Regions from separate parts of the Homo sapiens genome. Here all the other regions are linked to region 2. Evidence: promoter capture Hi-C in 16 types of primary human blood cells and fetal thymus (Javierre and others, 2016). All regions are on one chromosome and are shown on one strand. Each heading gives the region's core, a stretch centred on a gene start or on the middle of the fragment in contact. The rest is flanking DNA. Distances are from core to core; before and after follow the strand shown. Region 1 holds the start of HEPACAM (hepatic and glial cell adhesion molecule). Region 2 holds the start of HYLS1 (HYLS1 centriolar and ciliogenesis associated). Region 3 holds the start of PKNOX2 (PBX/knotted 1 homeobox 2).

Region 1 (3,028 bases), core at 154-2,653, 950 kb before region 2:
GACACCTCGATCTCCCACTTCTGGCTTCCACGACTTTGAGATAATGCATTTCTGTTGTTTAAGCCACTCAGTTTGTGGTATTTTGTTATAGGAGCCCTAGAAAATGAATACAAACTTCCTTTCTTATTTTATTTGCCTCCAGTTTCCCCTCGAATGACCCCCTGCAGACTGAGTAAGCTATCTGAAAGGTACATGTAACCCTGACAGTCCCCAAATTAAAAACCGCTCATTCCCTCACCTCTCAATCCCCAGATTACGAGTCTGGTTTACAAAGCTCTTGCCTCACTCAATTCATGCTTTTCTCTCCAGCAGTGATGAACTGCTGGGCTCTGACTAAACACTTGATGTTATTTCAAGCTGTTGACCTTTGCTCATTTCCCAACCCTAACACCCACTTATACTCCTACCTTTTTTCCCCATCTTTTAAAATTCAGTGCACACATTCCTTCTACCAGAAAACCTCCCCCTGATATTCCCACACCCTGTGTCCTACCCTACCAACACCCCCTCCACCAGCACCAGCTTCCTGGATGGGGTAGGTGACCTTTCTCTGATTGCTATGCATTCTCTGCATAATTGACTTATGATAGTTCCTGCAGTTTAGTAAAATGATCTCCACATCTGTTTGCCTCACTAAGTTGTGAATTCCTAGGTGCTCTGTAATTGTGTGTGTGTGTGTGTGTGTATATGTGTATGTACTCATAAATAGGTATATTTAAATAAGATCACTTCTCAAAGGATTGGTAGGGGGCGGTAGAGGAGGTAAGCAGCTATGGAGTGGAGTGAATTATGGATAGGTGGGTATGACTATCCCACATTAGGAGGCTCATTATCTCCAAAGCTTCTTTCATCTGCCTTACTCTTTTACACACAGAGAAGCCAGAGTCGGGGGCTGGGGAGGTATAAAAAGAAAATTTCCCCTACCCCTACCCATCAAGCCCCACCACAATCCCTTGGAAAGAATGCCAGACTGGCCCACGCCAACAAGTCATCCCATACGAAATGGCCCAGTGCCCGCCATCTAATGTACTGAATGCCGTGGGAGCTCCAAAGTCATGCAGCCTTTTGGGGGAAGGGGGTAGGGGCCGCGCGGGAGGCACACAAAATAAAGAAATACGTTCAACGCTAATGCCTGAATTCCCTGACATGTTTCCCACGGCAGCTGAACTCTCCCCCACTCCTGCCCCAAAGGCATTCAGGCCCTCCACTCTCCCCTCCGTCTGCTGTAAAAGCCCCGGGTCCTTTCTTCAGACCCTTTCTTACCCTCTGGCCTCCTACCTGTCTGGATCAGAAGAAGGTAGACAAAAGGAGCAAGGCGCAGGGCCCTGGAGGCTCTGGACAGGGCTCCCCTTTCTCTCTTCATTTTGGGTGGCGTTCTCCAGCTCTAGTGCAGACAATTAGCATGATTTCTCCACTCTGGGCACGTCCCCTTTGTACCACTCGGAGTTTCTCTGCCCGAACACAACCCTGCCAACTTCCCTCTGAATACACAGAGCTCTGTGTATTGCTGGACTTGTTCTTTCCTCTCCCTCAGACCTGGCATTTTCTAGTTTCCAAGCCCTACATCCCCAGTTTGGAAGCAGGTATCTGCTTAGGAGATAATCTCCAACTCAGGTTCCAACATGGGGGGCACCGGCAGCCCAGCAGTTGGTTGCTTGTCTGTGCTGAGCCTCACTACCCAGGGAGATGAGGATCTGGGCTCAGAGCACTGAGCTGGGACACACACTTAACTGGACTTTGTGTCCCAACCTACCCTGTCTCCACCTAACACTCCTTCTCCCTGAGGAGGAGGGTACATGCCAGGACAGACCTCCAATAAGCTCTGAAAAGGGAGGGAGAAGAGATTTTAAAAAGCTGGGAAGTGAAAGACTCCAGACAACTGCTGAAGAAATGGAAAACCCCTGTTCCATCCCAAAGGAAGAAGACTGGAAAACAGCTTGAATTCTATTATTGTTACACTTGTCTTTCCGTGGCTTGGAATTTTCTCTTCTATCATAGAATCACATAGATGCTGGACACCTCTTTCCAGAAGCCACTCTGTTCATTCCCCTGCTTTCAGGCAATTTTCTAGAACATGTCTGAGCAAAATGAAGGTCATCTCCTAACAGCCAGCATCCTAGGGTTCTGTTACCAGCTTAACAGCCTAGCTGTGCCCTCCTGTTTTGAGGCTGTGAAGAGGAGAAACACTCTAGCTCTACTCTGACCCCCATTCATGTGTTCACACCTTTTCATGAGGGCGGCCAAGGGAATGGATGCCTAGTAACTGTGATCTTGGGATGGGCTCGCAACCTCTTTGAGCCTTCAATTTCTCATCTGTAAAATGGGGAAAAGAAGAGCTTCCTTGAGGGGAATTGTTGGGAGCGTTGATGGAGATTTGGTACAGAAGAGTACCTAGCAAATCCTTTGTTACAGAGATGATGTTTTAAACTTTTTAAAAATTGCCTTGTTTCTTTTTTCATTCATGCTGGGATCTTTATATTTTTGGGAGACCAAACTTCACAACTTCCTTCTTGGTCATCCCTAACCCCTGGTCTTGGTTTTGTAAGTGCAGCAATTATCTCTCTAAATATTCTTTTTACATACTGGAGAAAGCCTGAGTAGGTCAACTTTCTAGAACTGAAGCATTATTACATAGCCCTTCTGAGCCTCGGCAGAGGGAGAAGAGTTGGGAAGCACTGAACTTCACAGACCTCTCTGAAAACATTCTGAAATATATAAAGGGGATTCTTTTTTCCTTTTGCATTTCTGTGTTTATGACTTTTCCCTAGACAACTCAAGGCACCTTTCTTCCACTGGAAGAGGTAATGTTATTATAGCAGGTACACAAAAAGAGTCAATATTCAGCTTCTGACATTTAAAATAGCATTTCAAAGTCCATAGCAAGATGAAAGGCTTAGCCAGTCTTTGTAAGGGACAAAAGAGCATTCTAATTTCTTTTATCTACCCCTTGACATATCATAGATCAGCCTGTGGACTGGATCACAGAGTCCTTCTGGAGTGTAGATAAATGGCCTCTTTGCCTGTGATG
Region 2 (3,113 bases), core at 54-2,553:
TTCTCCCCTCCCACTGAATCCTGGATTTAAGAAATGGTGTAAGATGAACTTGACAACTAGCACCTATTTGTTTAAGGTGGAAAATGCAATGCTCAGGACTCAAGACCAGTTGAGATAGGTTTGCTTGGTATTGACTAGGATATTGAACCCTGAGGGCCTCTCCTCTTGCTTTTACAGATCTCATCCTCAGCAATCCCCAAGCACTAGATTTTTTTTTTTTTTTTTTTTTTTTTTTTTACAGGTACAGATGCAAAAAGAGTTAAAACATCGGGTTTAAAAAAAAAATTAGTGGCTGGGCACAGAGGCTCACAACTGTAATCCCAGAGCTTTGGGAGGCCGAGGGGGTAGAATCACCTGACTAACATGGTGAAACCCCATCTCTACTAAAAATACAAAATTAGCCGGGCATGGTGGTGCTCGCCCGTAATCCCAGCTGCTCGGGAGGCTGAGGCAGGAGAATCGCTTGAACCTGGGAGGCAGAGGTTACAGAGAGCTGAGATCGCGCCACTACTCTCCAGCCTGGGCAACTGGGCAACAAGAGGGAAACTCCGTCTCAAAAAAAAAAAAAAAAAAAAGTTGAGAGTAACACCATGTGAAGGAGACAGGCACATTCCAAAAGAAAACAAGTGCATGTCGGAGCAAGGCAGTCGGTGGCTGGAGCACAGTTAGAGTAACGTGGGAGGAGCTGTGGAGACGCAGCCACGGGTCACGCCAGGGCCCTGCACACCATGCAGAGGAAAGGAAGAGCTCAGTGCGCCAGGGTTTCATACAGCCGCTCTCTCAGGCCCCAAGGAAACGTCTAGAGCGCACAGGCGGACTCACCCCAGACTGTTCGAACCGTCCCTGAGCGCCCGCCCTCGTCTCCCGGCACCACTGGCCCCGCAGCAGCCAGTTGAGAAGGGCGGAGGCTGATTCCAATGAAGTGGCAGACCGTTAGGCGGCCTCTCCAAAAAGCCAGCTATGTCGCCGTTAGCCAAGGTTTGAGGGTCTTCTCCTTCTCTTCGAGGGCCCAACCTCCCCTCCAGATTTAGTACACCAGAGGCGTCGCAGCAACGGCTGCTGCCTGCGCGCCTCAGCTAGGCGGGCTCGGATATTTTTAAGGCCACATTGGAAATCCCGGGCATGCTCCCGCCGGCGGAGAAGGCCCAGACAAAATGTGCGCCAATCAGGATACAGACTTGGAGGACGTTTACCCTCAGGACCAATAAGAGGGAGGGCGGACCGGGCCAAGGGTGCCGGTTCGCTCTCCGGATTTAAACCTCAGCGGTCGGCGGTTAACCGCAGGCTCGGCGCGTGGGCCGGCAGTGCGCCTGCGCAAGTTACGCGAAAGCTAACAGAATCTGCGGTGCTCTGCTGGCGACTGGCAGGACGCGGTGCAGAGAGCGGACTTCCGCGACGCGGGTAAGCCGGGCGAAGGCCGGAAGCGGAGGGACGCGGGGACCTGGTGGCTGCCGGCCCACTGCGGCGGGAGCCCTCGCTCCTTTTCCCACCGTCGGGACGGTGCAGAGTGGCAGCTTCCCTCCGTGGATTCCAGGTCCTGCCTGGCGAGCCGTCCCCAACGTCTGCGTTCCTGAGGGAGGCGGCCGGGGCAGCGTGAGCTACAGGCGATGTGCGCGGCGGGCCGCAGCCCCTGGAGGTCACGGTGTGCGCTGGCCGCCGCCGCGGTCTTTGCCCCGGTGGCCTTTCTGAGCTCCTGGGCCGCGCCCCTGGGACCAGGCGGAGGCCGGGGACGGCCCCAGGGCTGGAGGGGAGTCCCGAAGGCCGCTAGCGACCTGGGTCCAAGCCACGCCCACGGCCAGGCGGGGCGACTGCGAGCTTTGCCGTTGAAAGGCGGAGCGTGTCTTGTCGCCTTCTAGCTGCACCTTTTGTGGACTGCAGCATGGAACCGTCCAAGGTGTTTGTCCACCCCGAAATGGAAATAAATCTTTTTTATTCTAAACAGTATACAATCTCACTAAGCAGGCAAAGAAAAACATTAAGATATCTTTTTAGATTGGTAAGATTTTTCAGTACCCCATGCTGCTGAGAGAGTGAAGAAATGAAAGCAAGCACCTTTATGGCCTGTGTGCTGGGGATAATCTGTTTTTCTAGAGGGCAGTTTGGCATTATAAATCAGAATTCAGGCCGGGCGCGGTGGCTCACGCCTGTTACCCCAGCACTTTGGGAGGCCGAGGTGGGCGGATCACGTGAGGTCAGGAGTTCGAGACCAGCCCGACCAATACGGTGAAACCCCGTCTCTACTAAAAATACAAAAATTGGCCGGGCTTGGTGGCGGGCGCCTGTAGTCCCAGCTCCTCGGGAGGCCGAGACAGGAGAATCTCTTGAACCCGGGAGGGAGAGGTTGCAGTGAGCCGAGATCGCGCCACTGCACTCCAGCCTGGGCGACCGAGCAAGACTCTTGTCTCAAAAAAAAAAAAAAAAAAGAGAAAAGAAAAACATAAATCAGAATTCAAGTAGTACCATAACTTCTAAGTCATAATCCAATTCCAGGAGTTTATTCCAAGGACATAAATCGGACAAGAATGCAAACATAGTATGTACATGTTTTTAGCAATCCGAGCAACATTTAGTACGTGTAAAGAAGAAAGAAAATACTCGAAATTTCATCAGTCACAGATAACCATCAAACACTGTTCACATTTAGGTTTACTTCAGATATATTCATAATATATACCTTATATTTATGTGATTTCCTTATAAAATGTGTTTTAAATAATTGCATGTTACAAATATAATAAAGTATGTTAATTTAAAAGAACGTCAGTTAAGCAGATTATACATTATTGAGTCAGTAATAAATTGGGAACACATTTCTCTGTCAGTGTCGATACGCATTACCATTTTTAATGGATGCGTGGCGTTTGTTGCTATGGCTGTATTGTATCATATATTATTTAACCAGTCCCCTACTAATGTACATTTGTTTCCAGTCTCTTCATAATCATAAAATGGTATGGTAGTGGTCACTTGTATGTATACATGTTTGCATTCTTGTCCAATTTATGTCCTTGGAATAAATTCCTGGAAGTGGATTATGACTTAGAAGTTGTGGTACAGTTTAAATTCTGATTCAAAATGCCAAACTGGGCCGGGCGCGGTGGCTCACACCTGTA
Region 3 (3,298 bases), core at 398-2,897, 720 kb before region 2:
ATATTATTATACAATGTATAATATATAATAGCGATTATGCTGTCAGCAGCCAGAGACTCTGACTGCAGATCAGAGGCTAGGGTGACATAAATCCACCTAGTGAAGTTTTTGAAGGTTCTATGTGAAGGTGAGAGGATTCTAATCTGTCTATAATGGGGGCTACCACTGAAGAGTTTCTCCCACAAGCAACGTTGGTGGGTGGATTTGAGGGTATTGGGAGGATCTGGACAAACAGTAGTGTGTGTATCTGGGATGTGATATAAGAAGGGTCTCAATTGCCTCCCCTGAGCCAGGCAATGCTAACAGCTCTCATCCTTGCCCATGACGGAGGCGGGTGAGTGGCGACCCAGAGGCCTGAGAAGAGCTCAGGGGCAGCCTTCAACTTCTTGGGTCAGATTCTTTACTGAAAACCCAGAGGCTGGGTTTCACTTTCTGCTTTCCCGCTTTTGTCGGTGTCTTTGTCTGGGCTTCTTCCAGGCCCCCTGCCTGGCCTGGGGTCAGAGGATCAATGGCTGCCTGACTGGCTGAAAGGGCTCCTCTATGGGGAGCAAGAAGCAAACTTCCAGAGGCAGAAGGGGTTCTCTTGTCCCTTTATGCGGAGGGCCATGTGCTAAGTTGAGGAAGCAAGCAAGTGTGCTCCTGTGTGTGGCTCTTAGTAGGACTGTGATCTCTGCTGAGTGAATGGAGGCGCTTGTGGGTCTACACATGCCTGCTTTTGTCTTCCACTGTAGAGGGCATGTAAGGAGCCCATTTCCTCCCTGATGTAGATGAAGCCACCCCAGCAGGCCCAGGCTGAAACAGCCCAGCTGGTCTTTCCCTTTATATGACTGCACCCCAGCCCCCAGAACTCTGGGAACTCACTGAGTTTCTTGAGGACTTTTTATTAGAATGAAAATAGCAGTGGCTTAGAACAGGCTTGCCTGACATTTGCAAAGAAGTGCTTTACTGACAAAGCCTATCCACTCTTTCCTCTCTCCCTCTGCCCCACCTTGAACCAGACACCCCGGGAAGCCCACAGCAGAAAAAGCTCTTGAGACCAGGAATAACTAACCAGAGTGTCATCTGAACACCTTTTCTGGGGCCAGGGTAATGAGAATTATTCAAATGCAATCATAAAAATGAGGCCAGCCAGGCAGGAAAAGGGGGAGGGGGAGTGCTGGTGGAAGGAAGGATTTCTTGCCCGTTTTAAGTTTCATCATTTCTGGGGAGTTCTCTTGGGGTCCACAGAAAATCTCACCTCATCTCGGTCCCCTCAGCACCGGTGATATCTTGGAACTCGGCCCCGGTTGTTCGCTAAGGAGGACTTGGCTTGGGGGCGGGAGGGTGCTCCAGAGTTCCTGGGGGTCCACCGCACTCCCCATCCGAGGCTCCTCGCGAGCGGAGCCGCTTCTCCAGGCCGCCCGCCTCCCTGCCGCAGGAGCAGGCCCGCGCCCGCCGCCCGAGAGCCTCCGGTAGAGGGAGACACTCCAGCGGCTCCTCCGACTTGGCAGCGGCCGGGCCGGGAGTGGGTGGGGGTGATGGGGGGTGGGGAGAAAAGGGGGAGTGGGGAGAGGGGAGGTGTGTGAAGGGGGGGTCCGGGGGGCGGGTCCCTGTGCCGCTGACGTCCCGAGCAGTGCTGGGAAGTATAGGCTGTGTTGTCACGCCGGTGTCAGTCTGATGAAGATTGGCATCAGGTAAGCTGTCATTCATTTCCATGTCAGAGACGCTTTTGCAGGCGGCGGCGGCGGCGCGGCGGCGGCTGCTGCTGCGGGCGGCTGCCTCAGAGCGCGTGTGTTTTATTCCAGTCCCCAAGCCAGAGTATTATTCATTGCGACAGGGCAAGGAGGAGAGAGGGAGAGAGGGAGGCAGCAGGGAGGAGAGAGAGGGAGGCAGCAGGGAGGAGGGAGGCAGGGAGCAGCGAGGGACGGCGGGAGCGTGCAGAGAGAAGCTGGGGAAGCGCCGGGAGAGCGCGGAGCGGAGCAGCGCGAGGGGCGGCGAGGCCGGGCACGGAGGCTGCGAGAGCCCCGCGGGCCGCCCGCTCCCCTGCCCGGCCAGCGCTCAGCCCCGCCGCCGCCGCCGCCGCCGCCTCGCCGCGCTTGGGCCCGTGGCCGGCCGCGCATTGTCCTCGGGTGCAAGGAGCCGGGCTGCGGACTCGAATCGCCGCGGGCCCAACCCCGTAGCGGGCGGGCGGGGAGCTGTGCGCCAGGAGCGCCAGGGGACCCGAGAATAGGAACAGGCACGCCGGCCCGAGCCCGGGTGCAGAAGGCTCCCGGCCGGGCGCTCCGCGGGGAGAGGCTGGGAACCGCGGGCAGGCTCCAGGTTCTCTTTCTCCCGGCTTCGGGCGTCCTTGGGGCCGGCGCTTACTCCGCGCCACCAGCCTGGAGATGCTTTCCAGCGGCTGGAGGCGGGAGCGGTCCCAGGCTGGGGCCAGGTGACCGGAGGAGTCGAGGAGCCGCGGCCGCGGCCTGGGGAGGCAGGGCGAATGAGGGTTTGCAGACGGATCAGTGGAGACAGGGGAACACCGGCGGGGCCCGGGAAGCCAGGATCCGAGGGGCTACACGCACGGACCCTCACCCAGGGAGGAGCGAGAATGTGTAGGGTCACCGGCTTTCCATGATTGCTGGGGATCTTTGGTGAGGCGGGCGTAGGGGCCCGCGCGAGGCTTGGGAATCGGGAGCCCTTCTGGCTCGAGAACTAGGGGATGAGTTCGTAAAAGAGGGAACTGAAAGCGATCGAGAGCGGAGAGCTGAGGGGGATGGCGCAGGATCCCGAATCTGCCGCTCAAAGTTTGCATTTCTTTCGGGTTAGGAGACGGGCTTTCCTGGCTCCCGATCCCCAGGAAGAAACGAGCGAAATGGGCCGTCCTTTCCCGGGGCTCTTCACGGGGGAGCCGGGGGTTTCCGCGCGGTGGGGAGACTCGGGTTGGGAATTGAGGGGTAGGGGCTTGTGGATCGGCCTGAATTAGGGCTGGGTTTTAGGACCAGTCTAGAGTTCGGTTTATAGGATCCAGACTGTTTACGGAATCGGGATCGAGGGGCCGATAAGTAGTTTACACGCCGGCCAGAGCAGAGGGCTGGAGGTCGGAGTTGGGGGCTGGAGGAACGGGTGGCGTTTTTAGGATTCAGTAACAGGATCACAGCTTTTTCTTGTGGTGGAAGCTATTGGAATTTGGGGAGGGTAGCACGAGGGGTCCTGCAGCTCCGCGTGTGAAAAAGCGTTTAGGTAGGCGATGAAAGTAGTTGATCTGAGCCATGGCAGGCGAGCCCCGAATTTTTGCTGCTTCCCCCTGAAAGTGTTTCTTTAGGAGGAGAGGACTTGG

The links. Contacts are between HindIII fragments. The CHiCAGO score rates a contact against its expected background, and 5 or more counts as called.
Region 1: a contact is called between the fragment with the promoter of HEPACAM here and the fragment with the promoter of HYLS1 in region 2, in 4 of 17 cell types (naive CD8 T cells, activated CD4 T cells, non-activated CD4 T cells and 1 more). The highest score is 9.5, in naive CD8 T cells.
Region 3: the fragment with the promoter of PKNOX2 here is called in contact with the fragment with the promoter of HYLS1 in region 2 in 1 of 17 cell types (total B cells); the score reaches 5.0 in total B cells.

Annotation. Positions count from the first base shown.
Region 1 is chr11:124,934,644-124,937,671 of GRCh38, forward strand. HEPACAM (hepatic and glial cell adhesion molecule) reads right to left here and starts at 1,404. Exons shown (of 7, transcript NM_152722.5): 1 at 1,279-1,404. The coding sequence starts at 1,363. All of the region lies in intron 1 of LOC107984406 (a long non-coding RNA gene), which reads left to right. The HindIII fragment of the contact is 6,598 bases long and covers 840-3,028 here.
Region 2 is chr11:125,886,365-125,889,477 of GRCh38, forward strand. It overlaps HYLS1 (HYLS1 centriolar and ciliogenesis associated), which reads left to right and starts at 1,304. Exons shown (of 3, transcript NM_001134793.2): 1 at 1,304-1,401. RefSeq lists an enhancer at 1,012-1,061 and silencers at 1,202-1,251, 1,342-1,391, 1,492-1,881. The HindIII fragment of the contact is 13,277 bases long and covers 1-3,113 here.
Region 3 is chr11:125,163,104-125,166,401 of GRCh38, forward strand. It overlaps PKNOX2 (PBX/knotted 1 homeobox 2), which reads left to right and starts at 1,648. Exons shown (of 13, transcript NM_001382323.2): 1 at 1,648-1,673. It overlaps PKNOX2-DT (PKNOX2 divergent transcript), which reads right to left and starts at 1,506. Exons shown (of 3, transcript NR_125759.1): 1 at 1,238-1,506. RefSeq lists a silencer at 1,361-1,510. The HindIII fragment of the contact is 6,114 bases long and covers 1-3,298 here.